6 separate regions of the Homo sapiens genome follow, and all the other regions are linked to region 1. Evidence: promoter capture Hi-C in 16 types of primary human blood cells and fetal thymus (Javierre and others, 2016). All regions are on one chromosome and are shown on one strand. Each heading gives the region's core, a stretch centred on a gene start or on the middle of the fragment in contact. The rest is flanking DNA. Distances are from core to core; before and after follow the strand shown.

What was found. The method cuts DNA at HindIII sites, captures the fragments that hold promoters and counts their contacts. A CHiCAGO score of 5 or more calls a contact.
Region 2: a contact is called between a fragment that was not itself captured here and the fragment with the promoter of FAM91A1 in region 1, in 1 of 17 cell types (neutrophils). The highest score is 5.8, in neutrophils.
Region 3: a fragment that was not itself captured here is called in contact with the fragment with the promoter of FAM91A1 in region 1 in 10 of 17 cell types (fetal thymus, total CD8 T cells, non-activated CD4 T cells and 7 more); the score reaches 8.3 in fetal thymus.
Region 4: a contact is called between a fragment that was not itself captured here and the fragment with the promoter of FAM91A1 in region 1, in 1 of 17 cell types (M1 macrophages). The highest score is 5.4, in M1 macrophages.
Region 5: a contact is called between a fragment that was not itself captured here and the fragment with the promoter of FAM91A1 in region 1, in 4 of 17 cell types (M0 macrophages, M2 macrophages, endothelial precursors and 1 more). The highest score is 8.0, in M0 macrophages.
Region 6: a contact is called between a fragment that was not itself captured here and the fragment with the promoter of FAM91A1 in region 1, in 2 of 17 cell types (fetal thymus and erythroblasts). The highest score is 7.5, in fetal thymus.

Annotation. Positions count from the first base shown.
Region 1 is chr8:123,766,978-123,770,701 of GRCh38, reverse strand. FAM91A1 (family with sequence similarity 91 member A1) reads right to left here and starts at 2,263. Exons shown (of 24, transcript NM_144963.4): 1 at 1,928-2,263. The coding sequence starts at 1,999. RefSeq lists silencers at 310-359, 1,928-2,077. The HindIII fragment of the contact is 7,175 bases long and covers 1,385-3,724 here.
Region 2 is chr8:124,199,226-124,202,584 of GRCh38, reverse strand. The region is part of intron 2 of LOC101927588 (a long non-coding RNA gene); the gene reads left to right. Among named protein-coding and RNA genes, the nearest start is that of FER1L6-AS2, 29 kb to the right of the region's middle. The HindIII fragment of the contact is 2,132 bases long and covers 734-2,865 here.
Region 3 is chr8:123,270,625-123,273,906 of GRCh38, reverse strand. All of the region lies in intron 1 of ZHX1-C8orf76 (ZHX1-C8orf76 readthrough), which reads left to right. All of the region lies in intron 1 of ZHX1 (zinc fingers and homeoboxes 1), which reads left to right. Among named protein-coding and RNA genes, the nearest start is that of ZHX1, 2.0 kb to the left of the region's middle. RefSeq lists a silencer at 1-364. The HindIII fragment of the contact is 802 bases long and covers 1,235-2,036 here.
Region 4 is chr8:123,434,717-123,438,002 of GRCh38, reverse strand. NTAQ1 (N-terminal glutamine amidase 1) reads right to left here. Exons shown (of 6, transcript NM_018024.3): 4 at 1,402-1,550; 5 at 669-793. Among named protein-coding and RNA genes, the nearest start is that of NTAQ1, 20 kb to the right of the region's middle. The HindIII fragment of the contact is 1,430 bases long and covers 1,231-2,660 here.
Region 5 is chr8:123,465,082-123,468,719 of GRCh38, reverse strand. It overlaps a transcript of NTAQ1 not described here. Among named protein-coding and RNA genes, the nearest start is that of NTAQ1, 50 kb to the right of the region's middle. The HindIII fragment of the contact is 2,119 bases long and covers 1,181-3,299 here.
Region 6 is chr8:123,385,882-123,389,532 of GRCh38, reverse strand. The region is part of intron 1 of ATAD2 (ATPase family AAA domain containing 2); the gene reads left to right. Among named protein-coding and RNA genes, the nearest start is that of ATAD2, 8.7 kb to the left of the region's middle. The HindIII fragment of the contact is 1,196 bases long and covers 1,706-2,901 here.

The sequences.
Region 1 (3,724 bases), core at 1,014-3,513:
ACTAATTAAAGTCAAATATTCATGTTGGATATAATCTCATCACTCATCTTTCTTCCAGTATGCTACATTTATTCTGATGAAAAGAGTAGAGAAAAAATGGAAACAAAGAAAAGAAGAACTGTTTGTTCTTCTTGTGTCTTTGGATTTGCCACAAAACCCTAAAGTACAAAAGTGTCCTTTAAAGCCTTTATTCAAGATTAACAAAAGAAATTTATTCCTTCAGGTTTAGAGCTTTGTTCTCCCAGTTTAAGATAAATGCCACACGGGCAGCCACTGACACCCAAGAATTCAAGTTCTTTAAATTTATCTTTCTCGGTTTTTGCTATATTAAAGTGAAAGCATTTTCTTGGCCACATGATGCATGACCAGAACCTTAATATTCACTTCCTGGCACTAAATCCCCAAGGGAGGAAGGGAGCAAAGTAAACTAAACTATAACAATCCTCATACTGGCTGGGCACTGTGGCTCACGCCTGTAATCCCAGCACTTTGGAAGGCCGAGACGGGCGGATCATGAGGTCAAGATATCGAGACCAGCCTGGCCAACATGATGAAACCCCGTCTCTACTAAAAATACAAAAATTAGCTGGGCGTGGTGGCGCGCACCTGTAGTACCAGCTACTCGGGAGGCTGAGGCAGGAGAATCGCTTGAACCCAAGAAGCAGAGTTTGCAGTGAGCGGAGATCACACCACTGCACTCCAGCCTGGGCAACAGGAGACTCTGTCTCAAAGAAATGAAAATAAAAATAAAAATAAATAAATAATCCTTATATACCATCACCGCCACCATTCCAAACTTCCCAAAAATGCCACTGCCGAGTGCCAACAGAAAACTGAATTTCACTCTCGACCAAGTATAATGGGAGGAAGCGAAGGTCAATCTATGACCAGAGCAGCAGTGCGTTATCTGTAGCCCATATCACTACTTTCGTAAGACTTAAAACCATCTGCTATGTTACGTATTTATTCATTTATTTGTTTACGTCTTTCTTTAGTAAAATGTAAGCTCCATGAAGGCAGTCTTTGTCTTGTTGACTGTTGCAAATTACCTGCACCTAGAGCAACGCACAGCACCTAGTAGGTGGTCAATAAATATCTATTAAACAATTGAGTAAAACAGACTAAAAAAATCGAGAATTAACTTTCAAAAACCTCATGTCACTCTTGTTGAAACATCTCTGATAAACCCATCTTGTCTGGAGGATAAAGTCCAACAAAACAAAGCACACAAGCACCTTCAAAATCTGGCCCTGACCACTTTTCCAGGCTCATCTGCTACCAGCCCCGCGCACTCAAAAAACTTCAACTCCAAACATGTCAGTCCAAACTCTGGTGATACAGTCACTTGCTACTCATGAGACATGTTCTTTCACTCATCCAAGCTTTGTAAAATGACTTTCCCTCCCCCTGGAAAAATCTTTATTCCCTCTTATTTAACTCTTATTCGTCCTCCAAGGCCCAATTTAAGTGCCTGCCTTAAAAATCCTTCCAACTCTCCCAGGATAATTTCTCCCTCCCTCTGCTCTCACATATACTACAATGCAGGTGTGTATGAGCTGCTATCATCCTGTATCGTATTCATTTGTTTCCCATCCCTTTCCCACCATCCTGAAATTCCGGAGGTCAAGGACCGTGTTTAAAATCTCTATCGCAGGTGCCTGGCTGAATGTATCCTGCGGGCAAAGGCGCCAGTCGAGTCCTGTGGACACCATGCCATCCCATTTAGCGATCGCCCCGTCCTGGCCCTGTGGCCCCACAGCCGTCCCCTCCTCGCCCTGGGCTGAAGGTCCGTCTCCCCAAGACCACGGAGGAGTAAAGGAAGGGAGTCAGCCGGCAGCAGCCCGCTCGGGCCCCGCGAGCGAGGCAAGCAGGTGACCGCTGGGCGGGCCGAATCCGTCAGGGGCCCGGTCCCAGGTTCCGGCCGTACCTGTCTCACGTTGGCCGGCAACTTGTTCCAGGGGTAGTTGTGCCGGATGTGGAACTCCACGTCTATGTTCATGATGCCGCGGCCAGGGCCGGCGGCCGGGGCCGCCACCGCGACCCACACTACGCCTCCCGCCTGCCCGCCCGCAGCCTGTCAGCGGAGCGACGCGGGAGGCCCCGCGCCTCACACTGCAGAAGGCCCAGGCTGCCCCATGGCCTAGGCTCCCGACAGTTCAGCGCCGCCCGGGCCAACCGAGTACAAGAGCAGCAGCGATTGGAGGCTGGATCGCCTGAACAGCTCCAAGTTTCTTCCTAGTTTCGGGCCGCCGGAAATGGCTCTGGGCACACGTCACTTCCGCCCGCTGGCGCGCGGCCGGAGGGGCGGGGCACGGACTGGCCTCTAGCCACGCCCTCTACAGGCTGCGGGGCGGGGCGACGACGAGGTACCGGGAGGTGCCCGGGTGAGCGTTCCCCGCCCGCGCGCTTCGTCTCCCCGTTTCAGTCTCTGAATGAACGGCGATAGTCGCTTGGGTCTGCGTTGCCGTTGCTGATGACCCAGTTTACTCAAATTGTAAAGCCGGAGGCACTGGGGTCGGTTTTCAGAGAAAAGCGACCTGGGAAGCGGGCCGGCAGTGGCTGGCTTTACATTGGAGTGCGGTGCGCTCGCGGGGGTTCTCCACAGGCCAGCCCGGAACCCGGGCCAGTGAGACGGGGCGGGGGGTTGCGGGGACGGGTCCAGGGCCCTGGAGAAAGAAATAATCTCTAAGTCAGGTCTCGCACCGGGTTGAGCGAGAAGCATGGGCAGTGGGAGAGCAAAGGTCTGGTAAGCCCTCTTCCCTTCCGCGGTGTGCTGCACGTCATTGGGCTCCACTTCCCAAGAAGATCCAAATTCTTACAATGCAGGGATTCAGGGAGCTGAAATTTTAAACAGTGGTGCTGACAGGTCGAGGCAGCCTACAGGGCTGACAGAGAGATACCCTTGCCAACTTTGTCATGCAGCCTGTCGGTTTCTGCTTTATTCTGCTCCACACAAATGCCTCCAGAGTCACTTAAAAGCAAAAATCCAGCATGTCTTAATTTCAGATTGAGTGATAAGGTCTTTGGGAATAATTTCTTTCAGAAGTTGTTACGCTGCCTTAGCAAACCCGTGACCATTATTCCTGGCAGCAACCAGAGACAAGTTCAGTGTTATTGCAACTGTTTTTCAGTTTTTAACAATGGTTTTAAATAATGTTTTATTATATACTGGGAGATGTATACTTAGAACTTTTTATAAGATACCTAGCTCACACCTCAACAGCTGGCAAGTCTGATGCTTAGCAGAAACCCCATTATGTCTGATGAAATAAAGGTGACAAGTACACACTGCCCTTGCTTAGATGTTTTGGTCTCCTATTATCCAACTATAATAACCCAAAGATAAGTGCTTTGAACCTTATGTTTACAGATCCTCATCAGCATAGCTAAGGTTAACTGAACTCTAACCGTGAGACATTTATTCAACAAATATTGATTACCTGCCCGCCATGTATTAAGGCCTTGACTTGACAATAGATTATTCCTCACAACCCTGATATTCCTACAACAGTAACCACTTACTATCCCAGTTTGATAGAGGAGGAGACTGAGGCTTGGCAGGGCTTCATGACTTGCTCGCAAGATCACACAGGTAGCACTGACAGAGCCAAACTGGAGCCGAAGGCTATCCTCACTCCAGAGCCATCCTTTCAGTTCCCCAACTCAGGCTCTCACTCACTGAACTCTTCTACCTCCTGTTCCAATTTAGACAATGTTCATTCAA
Region 2 (3,359 bases), core at 550-3,049, 430 kb before region 1:
GCAGCTAGAACAACACGTGGCAGGTCGTGGGCACGCAGTAAATGTTAGCTCTTACTAATGGATGGCAGAAGCTGGCTCTGTTTGCTCAACACACACCTCTGAGGGTTATAGCCAGAGCCACAGACACATAGGAGCAGCCACCCTTGGTTGGCGAAGAGACAGTTCTGACCTTTAGCCACTGGTGTGGACACTCCATCCAGGCAGTGTCAGGATTCCCAGACTCCCTGCAGAGAGACCGTGCTGTGCGAGGGAATCAGGAAACTGAGAATCCGGTCTTTGTTCTGTTGCCTCTGGTCACTCACAGGGCTGTGGCTTTCCTTGGGAGAAGGAGGGAGGTGTCCAAAGATGTTACAACAATGATGGGAGGCTGGAGGTGGGAGCATGCCTTGGCGTCCCACCGTCTCTGTTAATGGGAACATTCCCCTGGTTGTTGTCACATGACTTGTGACAGCACTAGTTGGGGCAAAGCTCCTGGACTGTGCACAAGCGGGAGCGAGTTTCTGCAATAAAAAGAGAATCAACATGACACAGGGGTGCCCTTGCTAGGCCAGGCAGCATAGCATGGAGGAATGGAAGCTGATGCCGGGTGGGTGGCTGAGCTTCTCCTCTTGCCATCACCCTCCCAGCCGTGTCATTCTAGGTCTGCCCCTCAGCCTCTCTGAAGCTTATGTCTGTAACCACAAAGTAGGGATGAAAATCCCTTACCTGTCTCTTCACACACTTGTATTAAGCTTGACTATGGTAAAGTAGTAATGACCACTTAGTCACTGCTTATTACGTGTGGAACGCTGTGTGCTTTATAGACATAGCTTTATAGACATAGCTATAGACATAGCAGATTGCATCTCCATAACATCCCCGGGAGGCAGCTATCATTATTCCTGTTTTGTGAAGCTGGATGCTGACTCTCAGAGCCCATTTAGCCCATGCATGTACAATCTGCCCAAAACTTGGGCTCTGAATCACTCCATTGTGGGTGTCCAAAGAGGCAAGGAGAGAGCACTACCATCTGTTAAGCACCTACTATGTGTGAGAAAGTCCACATTCCTGGTCTTAGTCTGGCCCCACATCACCCACGATGAGGCCCTTTGAAGAGTGGAGGGGGTGGGGAGGGACGATGGTTGTTGGATTAAGGCAGTGCTGTGGTCAAGATGGCCCACTTAGACGTGAGGTCGGGTCCCAACTCATGCGTGCAAAGAACACACTCCAACAAGACGTCTAGCTTCACTGAGCCTCAGTTTCTTCTTCTATCAAATGGGGTGGATAAAGCTACGTCCCTCAAAATTTGCTGAGAGATGAAACAGGTAAAGTATGTCCCACTGTGCCTGGCTCATGGCAGCTTCTACATAAATGGTGGCTATTAATAGCTCTAATTACGAGTTTCTAGTGGCTGAGCATTGAGGAGATAAGAAGGGGCTTAGTTTTCCTTGCTCTTCAGTCCCTCCCATTCCTTTCCCAAATACGAGATTTATATCTCCTTTTGCACCCACTAATATGCCCCAGCCACAATGGCCTGTTATCACGTCCTAGGGATGACACAGTCCTGAGGCCAGATCCTTTTGTCACCTGCTGCTGGGGACTAGGATCAGCTCGCTGATGCAGATTGTCCTGGGAGGTTTCCATAACAAAGTTGGGCCGGGGAGCAGGAATTCCCTCTACTCCTGAGGGGTGGCTGGTTCAGCTGGAGACGTCCTTGTTCTCAAACTTCAGCAGGCTTCAGAATCGCCTGGAAGGCTGGTTAGGCCACCGATGGCTGGGCCCCACCCCAGTATTTCTGATTCAAGAGGTCTGGGGTGGGGCATTTCTAACAAGCTCCAGAGCTTCTGCTCTTCTCACTAAGCTATGTTGACTCTTAAAAGAATGGAAATATATTTAATTAACATTACTGAAGTGGTGTCGTGGCAAAAATCTGTCACTCCTGCTGGTCCAGGGACCACACTTTGAGAACCACTGAGCTAGAGAAACGGGAAGGGCAGAACTGGATGGATGTGGCCCCTTCCTGTGAATTTCTCTTTCTTGGAGAGAGTGTTTGTTTGTTTTTTCTCTGAGTCATCTAATGAATCTTCATGATTTCTGTTACTAAATGTCACTGTTGAGTAGCCTGATTTGAAATGGGGTATGAGGCAGTCCTGGAAACACAGCCCCATCTGAAGTCGGGGTGGGGTTAGGGGTCCCAGGCCTCAGTTAGGGAGTGGGCTCCTTGTCCACACAGGCTTCAGGGCTGATGCTGTCTTCTTGCCTCAGCTGGCATGCGTTGGCCTCCCAGGGCCCGGCAGGGCTTTCTTCACAGCTGGGCTGACTCATCTACCAGGGCAAGCCAGGGCCACAGGCACTTGCTGACAATCTGGGGTAATTTGACACTAGACTCAAACAGACACCTTGAAGAATGGACTGCCTTTTTTTGGCAGGATGCAGTGACCTGTGACTGCTACGTGAAGGCCTGGGCACTGCTGAGGTCTGGACAGAGGTAGCCTGATGATCTGGCCAGGTGCTCAGCTCTCTGCAGTTGGCTCACTTCCTGCTGTCCTCTGTGCTTGGCATTTGACAGCAACTTGTCAACTCAGCATCAGATTTCAATGCTGTCCTGATTTTCCATTCTTCTGTTACCTCCTGTCTTGGGCTCACCACAGACTCAGCAACTTGACTTAACTTGGTGTTTCTGGATGTCTTCTGTAGAAATAGCTCTGACTCACTGGCCCTCCATCACCCCCTCATCCTGTAAGCCAATCAGCATGGGAAGACAGTGGGGTTTTTCCATGTACCTCTTTGGCTGCCTTATTGTTGATATCAAGCCACTTCAGCAATAGAGATTCATTTCATAAGAGAACTATGTGATGTTCCAGTAATGTCAGAGCAAGGAAAGCTTTCCATTCATGTGGATCAGAGTTAAGGAAGAAGACGAAATGGAATCGTGGCCTCCTGTCATTTGTGGCAGGCCCCTACACCCCTGCCCCTGAAGTTCTGAGCACAGCCCATGATCTGTCAGGAGAACAGCAGGGATCTGCTTCTGGCAGGATTCTGCTCTGTGGAATCACAGATAAGCGGTTCCTATTTTTCTTCCAACACTGCAGAGAAATGACAAAATCCAGGGCCAGAATTTTCATGAATTAAATAGAGTTGGAATGGATCTGAGAGCTCGTTGGGCCAAGGGGTGGCAAATGCATTTTATTTGTGCCAATAGCAATTGTTTGGGAGGGGCTGGATAAAGCTCTACATTAGAAGCCTACTTTGAGCTCAGGCAGAAATGGTACCCTGGTCTTACAGTCACATCTGTCTTGGGCATAGGATGAGAAAGTGGTCACATATTGCCATCACTGACCCAGCTCTGTTCTCTCCATTTATGGAACAGGAAGCTAGGT
Region 3 (3,282 bases), core at 386-2,885, 500 kb after region 1:
CTTGGGGGCGGGGGGCTCTCTGGAGGGAACATCTCAGCCCCCTGCCTTGGTGAGGACCCAGCAACTTAGGATTGTTGAGAGGAGTGAAGACTGCGTATTCCCAGCGGAGGGCGCCGCCGGAGGGAGCACCCCAGTAATGTTGGGAGTCCTAGAGGAGGTCAGGAGCGCTGTCCTCCGGGGGCGTGTGGCTGCCTCGTGGGGGACCCAGTCTCCCTGAGAGTAAGGAGAGATTCTCTTGCTGGAGCTGAGCGCACTGACTGAGGTTGGAGCCCCAGCAAACCCTTCAGGAGAAGTCTTTACCTCCAGTTCAAGGAAGGCTATGCGCACCCGTTTCGGGGCCAGGCCATGTCCCAACTTTGGGAAAGACTGGGAGTTGAGTCCTTAAGAACCATATTACGATTGTGACGAAGCCCTGGGATTTAGGGAGAAGTTAATTAAAGAGGATGGTAGGGGCGTGGGGGTGTGGGGGCTGACCCATGGGAATCCTCCAAGCCTTAGGGCCCACAGTGAACAATCTACTAATACCTCAAGGGGTATAAAAGGCTGGGAAGGAGAGGTGTGAGAGGAACAAGGTCTAAGGGCAGGAAAGAAGAGCCCTGGCAGATCCCCTTTCCTTATATATTTACACCAAAGTTGGAGGTAAAGGGACTTGGCAATTCTTTGTTTTAGTACCTTTCCTGTCCTCTCTCCTCCGTGGGTAACTGTAAGGAAAGAGCATAGCCCCTGAGAAGGAAAAGATTCCATTTGATATCCTTAGCTTAGGTTAGTGAAGGATCCAGCAGCTGGGAAGGCGTCAATGAGAGACAGCAGGCGGGGGAATTAGAACAGAGACTAGGGATGAGAAAAGAGGAATACAGGGAAGATATCGGACAGAGCAGGAATTCCACAGCCCTTTTCTGTCAACTCAGCCCAGCTATTAGAAAAAAAAAAAAATGCGAAGAGCTAATATTTGAGAGAAAAATGTAAAGGCTGAGAGAGAAGTCGTGATGTGATTAGGTTGGGATTCCATGTAACTTAAGCAGTTCTCTTGGAGGTTAATGTGATAGCAGAAAAAGGAAAATCACAAAATTGGAAAATATACAGCGGTTCACGGTTAGGGAGGAAGAAGCAGTCTCCCCCCAGGAACAGTGAATATTTGGTTTGGGGTGTGTGTGTGTGTTGTGTGTATACATATATAAGAGCACTTTAGATTTGCTGGTGTTGGTCATTGTTTCTCAGTCTTTGTCTGAAAGCTTTAATTTGTGTTATATGGTGCTACATTAATTATCTTCGTTTCTGAAAAATTATTCTGAAAAAGTCATTTGTTTTTATGTCGGGAGCGAAGGTGAGCAGGAGTTGGTTTTAACAGGGAAATTGGCCCTAGTATACCCATCGATTATTTTAATTTCTAAAGTAGCAATTCTGACTCCTGATTTTAAGCAAAAGAAATGTGAGTGCTGCCAATGACAATAATGCGGTAACAGGACATAAAAGAAAAAGGGCTTTCATGAATATTTTTTTCCTTTTAGCTTTTCTCTCCTTTCCCAAAGCATGTTAAGGCTAAGCAGACTAATTTTATACAAAGTAAAATGTATAATCGTGGACCTTTTCGATATAAAATGATAGCATTTCAGTTATCAATGAATCTTTTTTGTTGAAGTACCTCTTCAGACGCCTTATTTGACAATCAGGATTAAAATGAGAAAGGGTAATACTTGGGTAACTGATGATAGTGATGATTCATAGAGATTTCTTGAACCATTCTTGTATTTTCGAAAGAGCTTTAACGTCTTCAATGGAAATGTTTTAAAGATACAGTTCAAATAGAAACTAGTTTAGAACTTTACATTTGGAACATTTTATGCACGTGTGCTGTTCTTTGGTTTCCTCAATGTTCATGTAGCTCTGGTTTTATATTCAATTCTGAACAGATTAGGCTGGGTGAACCAGAGAGGCATTAATGCCAGATGGTTTGAAAATATGCTAAATCCGAAAACATAAATGTGCCTGTGCTAGTGAACACTCATTAGTGGATTTCTTTCCTTTATAGCTAAGCTTATTATTTCACCGGATTTGGGGGGTAGTTCATGCATGATGTAGCAATTATTTCACCTTTAATGATAATTGTAAGTTCTTTTTTTTTCAATAATTGGGGACAAAGTTTTACAGTTATTAGCGAAATTAATAGCATAGGAGAGGTGGTTCATTTTGAAGATTTTTCTCCCTTTTGTATTATTATATTTTATATTAAGATGGAAAGGTTATATTATGATGTATTATATTTCTTATGCTAATTAAGCATAAAATGTGATATTTGAGACTTAGTTTGCTGTAAATTATAACTTAATACTTAAATGAAAATGCTTTTAAAATTATTAAAATGATCACAAATGTAGCTGAGGAAATAACCCTTTTATTTGTGTTGCAGCATTGTGGATTTGGGCCCAAAGACTTTACTTAAATAAACAGTGTTGAAAGTTCAGCACCTAGTTTTTAATCTAATATCATAGTCAGTGCAATTATTCAGAGAGATTTTTGGAATTATCTATTGTACTGTTTATGGTGCTAGCCAGTAATACACATTTTTTAAATCATTATAAATATTTATTTATGTTGTGATAAGCACATTTACTGTTAAGACTAAATTTTTTGAACTTAAAATCCTTTTAAATAATCCTACGTAGTTTCAAAAGTAAGTTATAGTTCTGTTTTTAAAACTGATACTATCTTTAGAATAAGAGCCAATGTTTCTATACTATTATTGATAAATTTTATTGTATCCTTGTTGCTCTGATATATTTGTAGTCATCAATAACCAGATTTGCATGACTAAAGTTGCTGACTTAGATTATTAATCAGAATATACATTTGAGTTTACATTTTGGAGATCTGCATTTTATACAGGATATTCTTAAAGTAAATATTAATATGTAACTTTGTATGTAGTTGCCAGGTTTTGATCTTAAAAGATACTTAATCTTGGCATTTTATACAATCAGTTTCCAACTTAAGAGGTAAGACTGTATACCTTTGGTCTAAACAAATGTGATGATATACTTTGTAAAATAAGTATATATGAGCAGTTTAAGAATTATGTTTATTCAAGGGAGCCAGTTGAATACATTTTTTTTTTTTTTTTTTTGAGACGGGGTCTCATTCTGTGGCCCAGGCTGGAGTGCAGTGGCATGATCATGGCTCACTGCACCCTCAAACTCCTGTGCTCAAGCGATCCTTTCTCCTCAGCCTCTTGAGTAGCTAGGACTACAGTCATGTGTCACCCACGCCCGGCTAATTTTTAATTTT
Region 4 (3,286 bases), core at 696-3,195, 330 kb after region 1:
CACAGCACAAAACCCTACCATGGCAAGGTGCTACTAGTCCCGCTGTTAAATGACACAAGCATGCGAGTATCCTGATGTTCAGTGTCCCCGCAGTAGCTACATCCAATAATCCAGCAGTTTGCAGGTGCCCTGGTTCTGATCCTTAACACCCTTCCTCTCCCACATGTTCTTATGCCTTCCAGTCCTATTCTCTGTGCCTTCATTTCTGAATCTAATACACACACAGAAGTAGTATTTCCTATGACCTCCTTATCATTCATGGAATTTTTTGTTTTTTGTTTTTTGTTTTTTTTTTTTTTTGAGATGGAGTCTCACTCTGTCACCCAGGCTGGAATGCAGTGGCCCGATCTCAGCTCACTGCAAGCTCTGCCTCCCAGGTTCGCACCATTCTCCTGCCTCAGCCTCCCTAGTAGCTGGGACTACAGGTGCCTGTCACCACACCTGGCTAATTTTTTGTATTTTTAGTAGAGACAGGGTTTCACCGTGTTAGCCAGGATGGTGTCTATCTCCTGACCTCGTGATCCGCCCACCTCGGCCTCCCAAAGTGCTGGGATTCACTCATGGAGTTTTATTCAAAGAACAACCTGACTTTTGTCCTCCGTTAAGGAAAAATGCTGATGTGTATGTGATCAATCAGAACCCCCATCTGAGAAGGCATCTTGGCTCACCTCCAGTCTCAATGCAGGGATATGGCGGCGGAGGCTCTCTCCAATTCCCACTGGAGTCTTTCATGTGAGATCGGTCAGAAGCAAAGTTCTTCAAATATGAATCTGCACGGATCACTCTAAATTTCCTGCAGAAAAATCAATATACACTCACATTAGGGAGATGTCATGTTTGAAATTCTAACTCCATTTTTATATCGACTCATTTCCTATGACATGCACAAAACTACTCATGCATTTCTGTATGGTTAGTAATACAGGCAACTTTACTACCTATTAGAGAAGCATAGGAAATGATCAACCAAACCCCGAAACAGAAAGGCAAAGGCACAAAAATATATCTGGTTGCCTCGATTTACTCGATTTGTGTATCAAGGGCAATGGGCATGATTTTCTGATGCTGCCCTCACAGCCCTCTCAATGGTGACAGCACGAGGTATCCCCACAAAAACAAAAAGAATATAAGAAAAATCCCCAACCCGCTTGAAATTAAATGTCTGAGATCTCATCACACAAAATTTTAAAAGAATGACAACCTTTCATATGATAGATAACTTTTAAAGCTTTAAAACATTTTGAATCTCCTGTGTTGCAAATACATCATTCTTAAACATCAACTCAATGGTGATGTCAGACGAGATCTTTACAAAACAATTGTCAAAAAAAAAAAGAACCTCTGTGGAATCGTCAAATTCTTACTTCAGAAAATAAGTAAATCCATCTTGAATGTCCTCACCTCCTAAACTGTGGGTGAATGTCATCATCAGACTTAAAGGCATCTTCTACATAAGTGTCAAAGAGGCAGGGAAATGGCAAGACAGTATCGAGATCATAAATGAAGTTCTGTCCTCCACTTGAAACATGAAGCAAAACAACATGGTAATCCTAAAAGTAAAAGTTGCTGAAGTTAACCAAGTTACTTCATAATGATGAAATCCCAGTATTCAGACACATACCTTATCACTAAAAAGGATATAGGACTGCTACAGCCCTCCTTATAATAGCAAAATAGAATAAAGCAAACACAACACCCTGAAAACATGAAAACAGACTAAATGTCCACAGATAGGGAAATGGTTAAATAATGGAAATGTTCATAGTCATTAAATGCACATCCTCTGAAACTGCAATTTTACCTCTAGGAAACTTTTTTTTTTTTTTTTTTTTTGAGATGGAGTCTTACTCTCGTCACCCAGGTTGGAGTGCAGTGGCATGATCTCAGCTCACTGCAACCTCCACCTGCCGGGTTCAAGCAATTCTCTTGCCTCAGCCTCCCGAGTAGCTGGGATTACAAGCGCGCACCACGATGCCCAGCTAATTTTTTGTATTTTTAGTAGAGATAGGGTTTCATCATGCTGGCAAGGCTGGTCTTGAACCCCTGACCTCAGGCGATCCACCCGCCTCAGTCTCCAAAAGTGCTAGGATTACAGGTGTGAGCCACGGTGCCTGGCCCCACATATTTTTTTTAATTGAGACAGAGTCTTGCTCTATCACCCAGGCTGGCGTGCAGTGGCATAATCTCAGCTCACTGCAACCTCCGCCTCCTGGGTTCAAGCGATTCTCCTGCCTCAGCCTCCTGAGTAGCTGGGACTACAGACACCCGCCACCACGCCCAGCTAATTTTTGTATTTTTAGTAGAGATGGTGTTTCACCATGTTGGCCAGGCTGGTCTCCAACTTCTGGCCTCAAGTGATCCCCCCGCCTCAGCCTCCCAAAGTCCTGGAATTACAGGTGTGAGCCACAGTGCCGGCCCCACCTGCTATTTGTTAAAAGCTATCTGTATATAAAGACATACGTGCGCATTCAGAAGTACATTTGCATGCATGTGAATGCAGAGGAAAACGTCTGCAAGGATCTGCTCCAAACTAGTAACAAAGGAGGCTTCTGGGGGTCAGCCTGGAGAGGAGAAGGAGGACTTTAATTTCTAGTTTGGAACCACTTTTGCAATTAAAAGAAAGGAAAAACTATTTTTTAAAAAAAGAAGTTAGCCAAGCTTTCATCTGTAGCCACTAAGGGAGAAAGAAAAAGACAGCTTTTCCCACACAGCTCTGTCACAGTGTGGATGTTAATTCTCACCCTCACTCTCAGACTCAAGGTACTGCCCAACACCAGCGATGAGCTGAAAGGGATTTCAGGGAGGTGATCAAGGGACATGAGCAATGTGGTGCTCTGAGTTCTTCCAAAGAAAAACGCTCTCATAGAGAACAGCACTGTGAAATCAAAGCAACCTAGCAACATTAGTAATACCAACTTATATTTCTACAATATCTTAGAGTTTAAAAGGCACTTTCTTTCTCAAATATCATTCTACTTGAGCCCTGTATAAATCCTGAGGTAAGAACAATACTTAAGACTAGGGATGCTGTGCCTTTAAAAGCCTGAGTGCTGCCTTTGGCTCTAAGTCTGTCTTAGCAAAACAGAAAGATTCAAAAATGAATGCCTATTCTCTGGACTTCCCCAGATACATCCTATCCTCCACGCCCCCAAACAGTCCACCACTGCCTCCCAATGGGTCTGCTCATGTCATTCCCCTCCATCTGCAGCAACCTTCTCTACCTCTTTCTACCACACAAGCTCCAGCTAAAGGCTTTCTTCCCACGAATCAATTTTTTATCTTCTCC
Region 5 (3,638 bases), core at 991-3,490, 300 kb after region 1:
ATATATATCCAAAAGAACTGAAAACAAGATCTCACAGAGATATTTGCACATCTATGTCGCTTGCAGTATTATTCACAATAGCCAAGAGGTGGATGGAACCTAAATGTTCAGTGATGGAAAAAATGATAAAGCAAATGTGATATATACATACAATGGAATATTATTCAGTCCTTCAAAATAAGAAAATCCTATCATACACTATAACATGAATGAAACTGGAGGACATTAAGCTAAGTAAAATAATGCAGATAAATGCTTTATGATTCCACGTATACGAGGTATCTAAAGTAGTTAAACTGATAGAAACAGAAAGTAGAATGGCAGTTAGTGGGGGGATATGGAGAGAGGAAAATGGGGAGTTGTTTGATGAGTACAGAGTTTCCATTTGCAAGATGAAAACTTCTGGAGATCTGTGGCATGATGATGCAAATATACTTAACACTACTGTACACTTTAAGATAGTGAGTTTTATGTTATATTTTTACCATAAATAGATAAATACATAAATAAAGTTTTGAATTTATTGGTGCTTAGGGTAGGAGGAAGCTTATTCCCTACCCCACTACCCCCTTTGGGGGCCACGCAAGAATCCCTATCTCCTGAGGCCCTTTCCCAACTCACCTCCTGACATCATGGTGGGCATCTCCTTGATCTGGCCTCCTGCTTCAGTTTGTTTACCTCTCATTTAGAGATCCTGAACCTCCAGCACTTTGGGAGGTGAAGGCGGGTGGATCACTTGAGGTCAGGAGTTCGAGACCAGCCTGACCAACATGGCAAACCCTGTCTCTACTAAAAATACAAAATTAGCGGGGAGTGGTGGCTGGCGCCTGTGACCCTAGCTACTTGGGAGGCTGAGGCAGGAGAATCGCTTGAACCCGGGAGGCAGAGGTTGCAGTGAGCCGAGACCGTGCCATTGCACTTCAGCCTGGGCAACAAGAGCAAAACTCCATCTCTAAATAAACAAATAAAATAAAAATAGATACCTTGAACCTGTCTCTCATATTCACTGCTCCTCTGGCCCTTGCCTCTCCCTTTCTTCCTTGCTCACAATTCTACAGGATTTGGTCTGGTTCTAACTGCTCCAAGGAACCCTCTGGAACCTGGATATGAATGGCCAGTAATTAATTTATGAAATCAGACCCTCAGCTACATTCTATACTCAAGATACTAAAGCCAAGCTTAAAGACATTGATAAAACACTTAATGCAAGAATTATTTTATGAAAACACTTTAAAAATTATTTCAAACATCAAAATGGTACTTAAATCCCATTACATTAACAATCTCATAACACTATCTCATGCCATTGAATATGTGATAAAACCTTCATACAATATCTGGTGGGAATGTAAGTTGGCACAAACATTTAGAAAAGCAATTTGGCGGCCGGGCGCAGTGGCTCATTCCTGTAATCCCAGCAGTTTAGGAGGCCAAGGCAGGTCGATCACTTGAGGCCAGGAGTTCAACACTAGCTTCACCAACATGGCGGAACCCCATCTCACTAAAAATACAAAAATTAGCCGGGCATGGTGGTGCATGCCTGTAGTTCCAGCTGAGGGAGGCTGAGGATCACTTGAACCCAGGAGGCGGAGCTTGCAGTGAGCCGGGATCACGCAACTGCACTCCAGCCTGGACAACAGACTGAGAAAAAAAAAAAAGGAAAAAGAAAGAAAGAAAAGCAATTTGGAATATGTTTCAAGAACCACAAACATTTCCTGGTCCTTTGACCTATTAATACCATGCTCAGGAATTTGCTCTAAGGAAAATTATACTATTAAAAAAAGAACTTATATATAGAAGATGTTTATTTCCAAGTTATTTATGTAACTGATAGGGTAACATAATCAAAATGCCACTTTATTGTTTTTCTTCCATCATCCCTTTACTGTAAAATGGTATCGCCCATGGAAAACAGAATGGAGGTTCCTCAAAAAATTAAAACTAGAATTACCAGCAATTATATGACCAGCAATCCCATTCCTTGGTATATATCCAAAAGAACTGAAAACAAGATCTCAAAGAGATATTTGCACATCCATGTATACAGTTTGCCAGGGGGGAAAAGGGAGGAGGGGCAGCAGGAGAAAAGAATCTTGTCCTCACTCCAGATGAAAACAATTGCAGGCTCCTGCCTGCTGTGTCACTTTCAAGTAATGACAGTCTGATGGTCACATCAAGTCACAAACATGGTCTTACTAGAGTAATTCAGTGAGTCAGTTCATTCTATTCATCAACAATTCCATTTTCACTCAAAAGATTTCTTCCCCTTCTTTGCGAGAGCTGGCAGTTCCCAGGGAGGTGAGGGGAAAGTAGTCATTTTCTTCTGTCTTGCACCATGCGCCATAATCCTCCTCCACTCACTAGCTACTGGCTTGGATCCCATGCCCAAATGGACAGACGGCAAAGAGGTAAGTGGTTATGTCTGGAGCTACTTTAATTGGCTTCTGAGTGGCACAGTTGTAAGCTGACTTCCTGCTCACTGGGCTTTGCAGCTATATAAAGCTGCCTCTCACTTGGGGCACTTTTCTTGGGATCTTTGGTGATTCCCATCTCTGGGAACCTCTCCAGTTGTAATTCTCAGAACAAGGGAGAAGCATTCCATTCCAGCTGCTATTGCCCTCAGCCCCTGGTTCTCTGGCAATCCCGTCCACTCAGACTTCACTCTTTGGCTTCCTCTCACCCTCCCAGAGGGTCCTCTTGGACAGGATTTAAAATGACTTTCATGCAGAATGACAAACTGTGAATGGGTATACAACAGAATACAACTCTAAGTTATAGAGAAAGAATGAACTACTGACACAGGCAACAATATGGATGGAACTCAAAGATGTCATGCTGGCTGGGTGCAGTGGCTCACACCTGTAATCCCAACACTTTGGGAGGCCGAGGTGGGTGGATCGCTTGAGCCCTGGAGTTCCGAGACCAGCCTGGGCAACATGGTGAAACCCCATCTCTACTGAAAACACAAAAATTAGCCTGGCATGGTGGCGGGCGCCTGTAATCCCAGCTACTCAGGAAGCTGAGGCACAAGAATTGCTTGAACCCAGGAGGCAAAGTTTGCAGTGAGCCAAGATCGTGCCACTGCACTCCAGCCTGAGTGACAGAGCAAGACTCTGTCTCAAAAAAAAAAAAAAAAAAAAAAAAAGATGTTATGCTGAGTGAAAAAAGCAATCTCAAAAGGGTACGTACTATACAATTCCATTTACAGAACACTCTTAAAATGACAAAATTCTGGTGATAGAGAACAGATGAGTGGTCGCCAGGGGTTAGGGTTGGCAGGAGGGCCTGACTACAAAGCTTTAGTATGAGGGAGTTTCTCTGCAGTGACGGAAGCTGGTGACGGTGTCCTTGTTTTGGTAGTGATTACACATATCTATATGTGTGACAAGATTTCACAGTACTGTTTATACACATGCACACACAAGAGCATGTCAAAATTCATGAAAATCAAGGTCTATAGTTTAGTTCACAGTATTGTGTCAATGTCAATGTCAATTTCCTAGTTTTGAAAATGTACGGTGGTTCTACATTATCAATGGGGAAAGCCAGATGAAGGGTACATGGAACTCCCTTTTATTTTTGCAATTTCTTCTGAGTCTTAAATTCGTTCAAAATAAAAGGGTTTTAAAAATGGCTCT
Region 6 (3,651 bases), core at 1,054-3,553, 380 kb after region 1:
GAGTAGCTGGGACTACAGGCGCCCGCCACCACGCCCGGCTAAGTTTTTGTATTTTTAGTAGAGACTGGGTTTTCACCGTGATAGCCAGGATGGTCTCAATCTCCCGACTTCGTGATCCGCCCGCCTTGGCCTCCCAAAGTGCTGGGATTACAGATGTGAGCCACCACGCCCGGCCGACCATTGGGAGTTTTATGCCAGAATTGCTAAGAGGTTGGGACTGCTTGTCCTTGAGGATGAATAGAAAACAGCAAAGCACAGGCCGGGCACGGTGGCTCACACCTGTAATCCCAGCACTTTGGGAGGCCAAGGCGGGCGGATCAGGAGGTCAGGAGATCGAGACCATCCTGGCTAACACGGTGAAACCACATTTCTACTAAAAATACAAAAAAAAAAAAAAAATTAGCCGGGCGTGGTAGCAGGCTCCTGTAATCCCAGCTACTTTAGAGGCCGTGGCAGGAGAATGGCGTGAACCCAGGAGGCGGAGCTTGCAGTGAGCCAAGATCGCGCCACTGCACTTCAGCGTGGGCGACAGGGCGAGACTCTGTGTCAAAAAAAAAAAAGAGAGAGAAGAAAACAGCAAAGCACAAAAAGAATTAAGGAGGTCTGAAGCAATGCCTGTATTTTAAAGGTGAGAAGTTGAATCATGGAACTAAGAGTATTAAGTAAACCAAGGGACCGAAGCATTTTAAGAAAGTACTGGCCAGGCACAGTGGCTCACACTTCTAATCCCAGCACTTTGGGAGGCCAAGGTGAGAGGATCACCTGAAACCAGAAGTTCGAGACCAGCCTGAGCAACATAGTGAGACCACCCCCCCGCCCCCACCATCTCTAAAATAAAAAATAAAAATTGGCTGGGCATGGTGGCTCACACCTGTAATCCCAGCAGTTTAGGAGGCCGAGGCAGGTGGATAACTTGAGCCGAGGAGTTCAAGACCAGCCTGGGCAATGTGGTGAAACCCTGTCTCTACAAAAACCAGCTAGGTGTGGTGGTGCCTGCCTCTAGTCCCAGCTACTCAGGAGGCTGAGAGAGAGAATCGCTTGAACCCAGGAGGCAGAGGTTGCAGTGAGCTGAGATCGTGCTGCTACACTCACTGCACCCCAGCCTGGGCGACAGAGCAAGACTCCGTCTCAAAATAATAAAATAAAATAAGATAAAATACATAATCAGTAGCCAGGCGTGGTGGCACATGCCTGTAGCCCCAGCTACTACCGGGGAGGCTGAGGCAGGAGGATCTCTTGAGCTCAGGAAGTTGAGGCTGCAGTGAGCCATGATTGTGCCACTGTACTCCAGCCTGGGTGAAGGAGCAAGATCCTATCTCTAAAAATAAATAAAGAAGGTAGTGATCAGTTCTGTAGAATTCAGTGAGGTAGAGAAAAGGCTATTGGATGTAGCTATTGGGAGACAGTTGTGAATGTACTGAAAGAGCTGTGGAGGTAGAAACTAAGTTGGAGTTTACCGAGTAGATGGTGAAGTGGTTTAAACTCATGTTTAAAGACAAAACTAAGGAAGGATATCACAACTATAGTGATATAACATGTATATCATGTATTAGAATATACTGTTGTTTAAGTTTTCAGGGAGCCCTAAATTTGTGTTGAGTACATCCTATTTCAACCTCATTTGTTGATATTTGAATTGACTCAAACAACTGACCTCCCCCCCAAACATGCTTTTTAAAAAATGAATTTAAAGCTTGAATAAGCTTGGTCTTCTGTGAAAAATAACATAGAATATTTTTATTATGCAACTGTGTATACTTTAGGAAAACTTTTTTGTTATTTTATTGCTGCTTTTTCTCTATGTTAACTTACTGATTCTGCAAGGTTGTGAGAAACTTAAAATTTAACAAAATACTAACATTTCCTCTCTTAAAACTTCACTTTTAAAGAACTATAAGTGCTCTCAATATTTAAGTAGATTTTAGCCAAAGAATAAATGAGAATATTACATCTCTAGGTTAAAATTTCAGACTAAGTTTGTTTTCTCTTTGTTTTTTAGTTTTTAGGAATTTTTTTCTGGTAATACATGTGAAAATGTGAAAAATAGAAAGTGAAAGTCCCCATCTCTGTCATCCAATGTTAATTACTGTTAACAGTGTTGAACTTACCTCTTGGGAATTAGATGACTTCGGTTTAATACCTGTGCTAGTCTTCCTTAGGAAAGAAGATATACACAAGATAATTCATCTAGAGATATTTATAACATCAGAAAAAATTGCAGGCAACCTAAATATAATACATTCAGCAATTTGTTAAATAGATTCATGTAATGGCTGAAATACTATTCATTCATTAAATTTTTAGAGTAATATTTAATGACATGAAAAAATATTGATATTACTAGAAAAAACTTATAAAACATATAGTATTATCTCAGTTTTAAAATCATGTAAATATGTTTGCATAGGAAAAAAATGGTTTTTGCACCAAGAGATTAAAAGAGGTTGTCTGTGAGTGGCTGAAATTAAGGGTGACATTTTCATTTTTCCAGTAATAATGGGCATGTATTGCCTTTATTTTTATATTGCTTTTGTTAGAACTGTTTTTGAAAGATGCATTTAAAAATTTTTTAGTGTATACTCTATATAGAGGACTCCCACATAATTTTTTTTTTTTTTTGCCCACATTGTTGAGTCTTTCTTGCTGCCTAGTACTTATTTGGAGAGAATGACAAGCCGTTCACTATGCACATCAAAGATTCTCTTATACCACTTATAAGATTGTCTTCCAAGTTTCTTAGGAAATGTTTTTTCCTAGTATTGTCCCCATCCACCCCTTTTCTTGTTTTGTAAGGAAACAAAATCTTTTTTTATCCTCAGGAATATGGTAGCATTTATTTTCTTTTTTAATGTACCAAAATATACATAACATAAAATTGACCGTTTTAACCGTTTTTAAGCTTACAGTTCATTAAGTACATTCACATTGTTCTGCAACCATCATCACCATTCATCTCCAGAACTTTTTCATCTTCCAGAATTGAAACTCTGTACCCATTAAACACTTACTCCCAGTTCCTCTCTCCTCCTAGTCCCTGGCAACCACTGTTCTACTTTCTGTCTCTGAATGTGACTGTTCTCTGAATCTCATATTCCTAGACTAATCATATTTGTCTTTTATGACTTGCTTATTTCACTTAGCATATCTTCAGAGTTCATCCATATTGTAGCATGTGTTAAAATTTCCTTTTTTAAACAAGAAGGAATAATATTCCATTGTATGTACCATGTTTTGTTTGTCCGTTCATCTGTCAGTGGACACTTGGGTTGCTTCCCCTTTTGGGAATTGAATAATGCTGCTGTGAACATGAGTACAAATATTTGTGCAAGTCCCTGCATTCGCTTCTTTGAGTGTATACCCAAAAGTGGAATTGCTGGATCATATAGAAATTTTGTGTTTAACTTTTTGAGGAATTGCCTTACTATTTTATGTTACCACCAGCAACACACAAGGATTCCAGTTTCTCTACATCCTCACCAACAATTGCTATTTTCTCCTTTTTTTTTTTTTTTGTGAGTAGCCATCCTAATGTGTGTGAAGTGTTATCTCTGTGGTTTTGATTTGCGTTTCTCTAATGACTAGTGATGTTGAGCATCTTTTCATGTGTTTATTGGCTATTTGTCTATCTTTGGAGAAATCTCTATTCACATC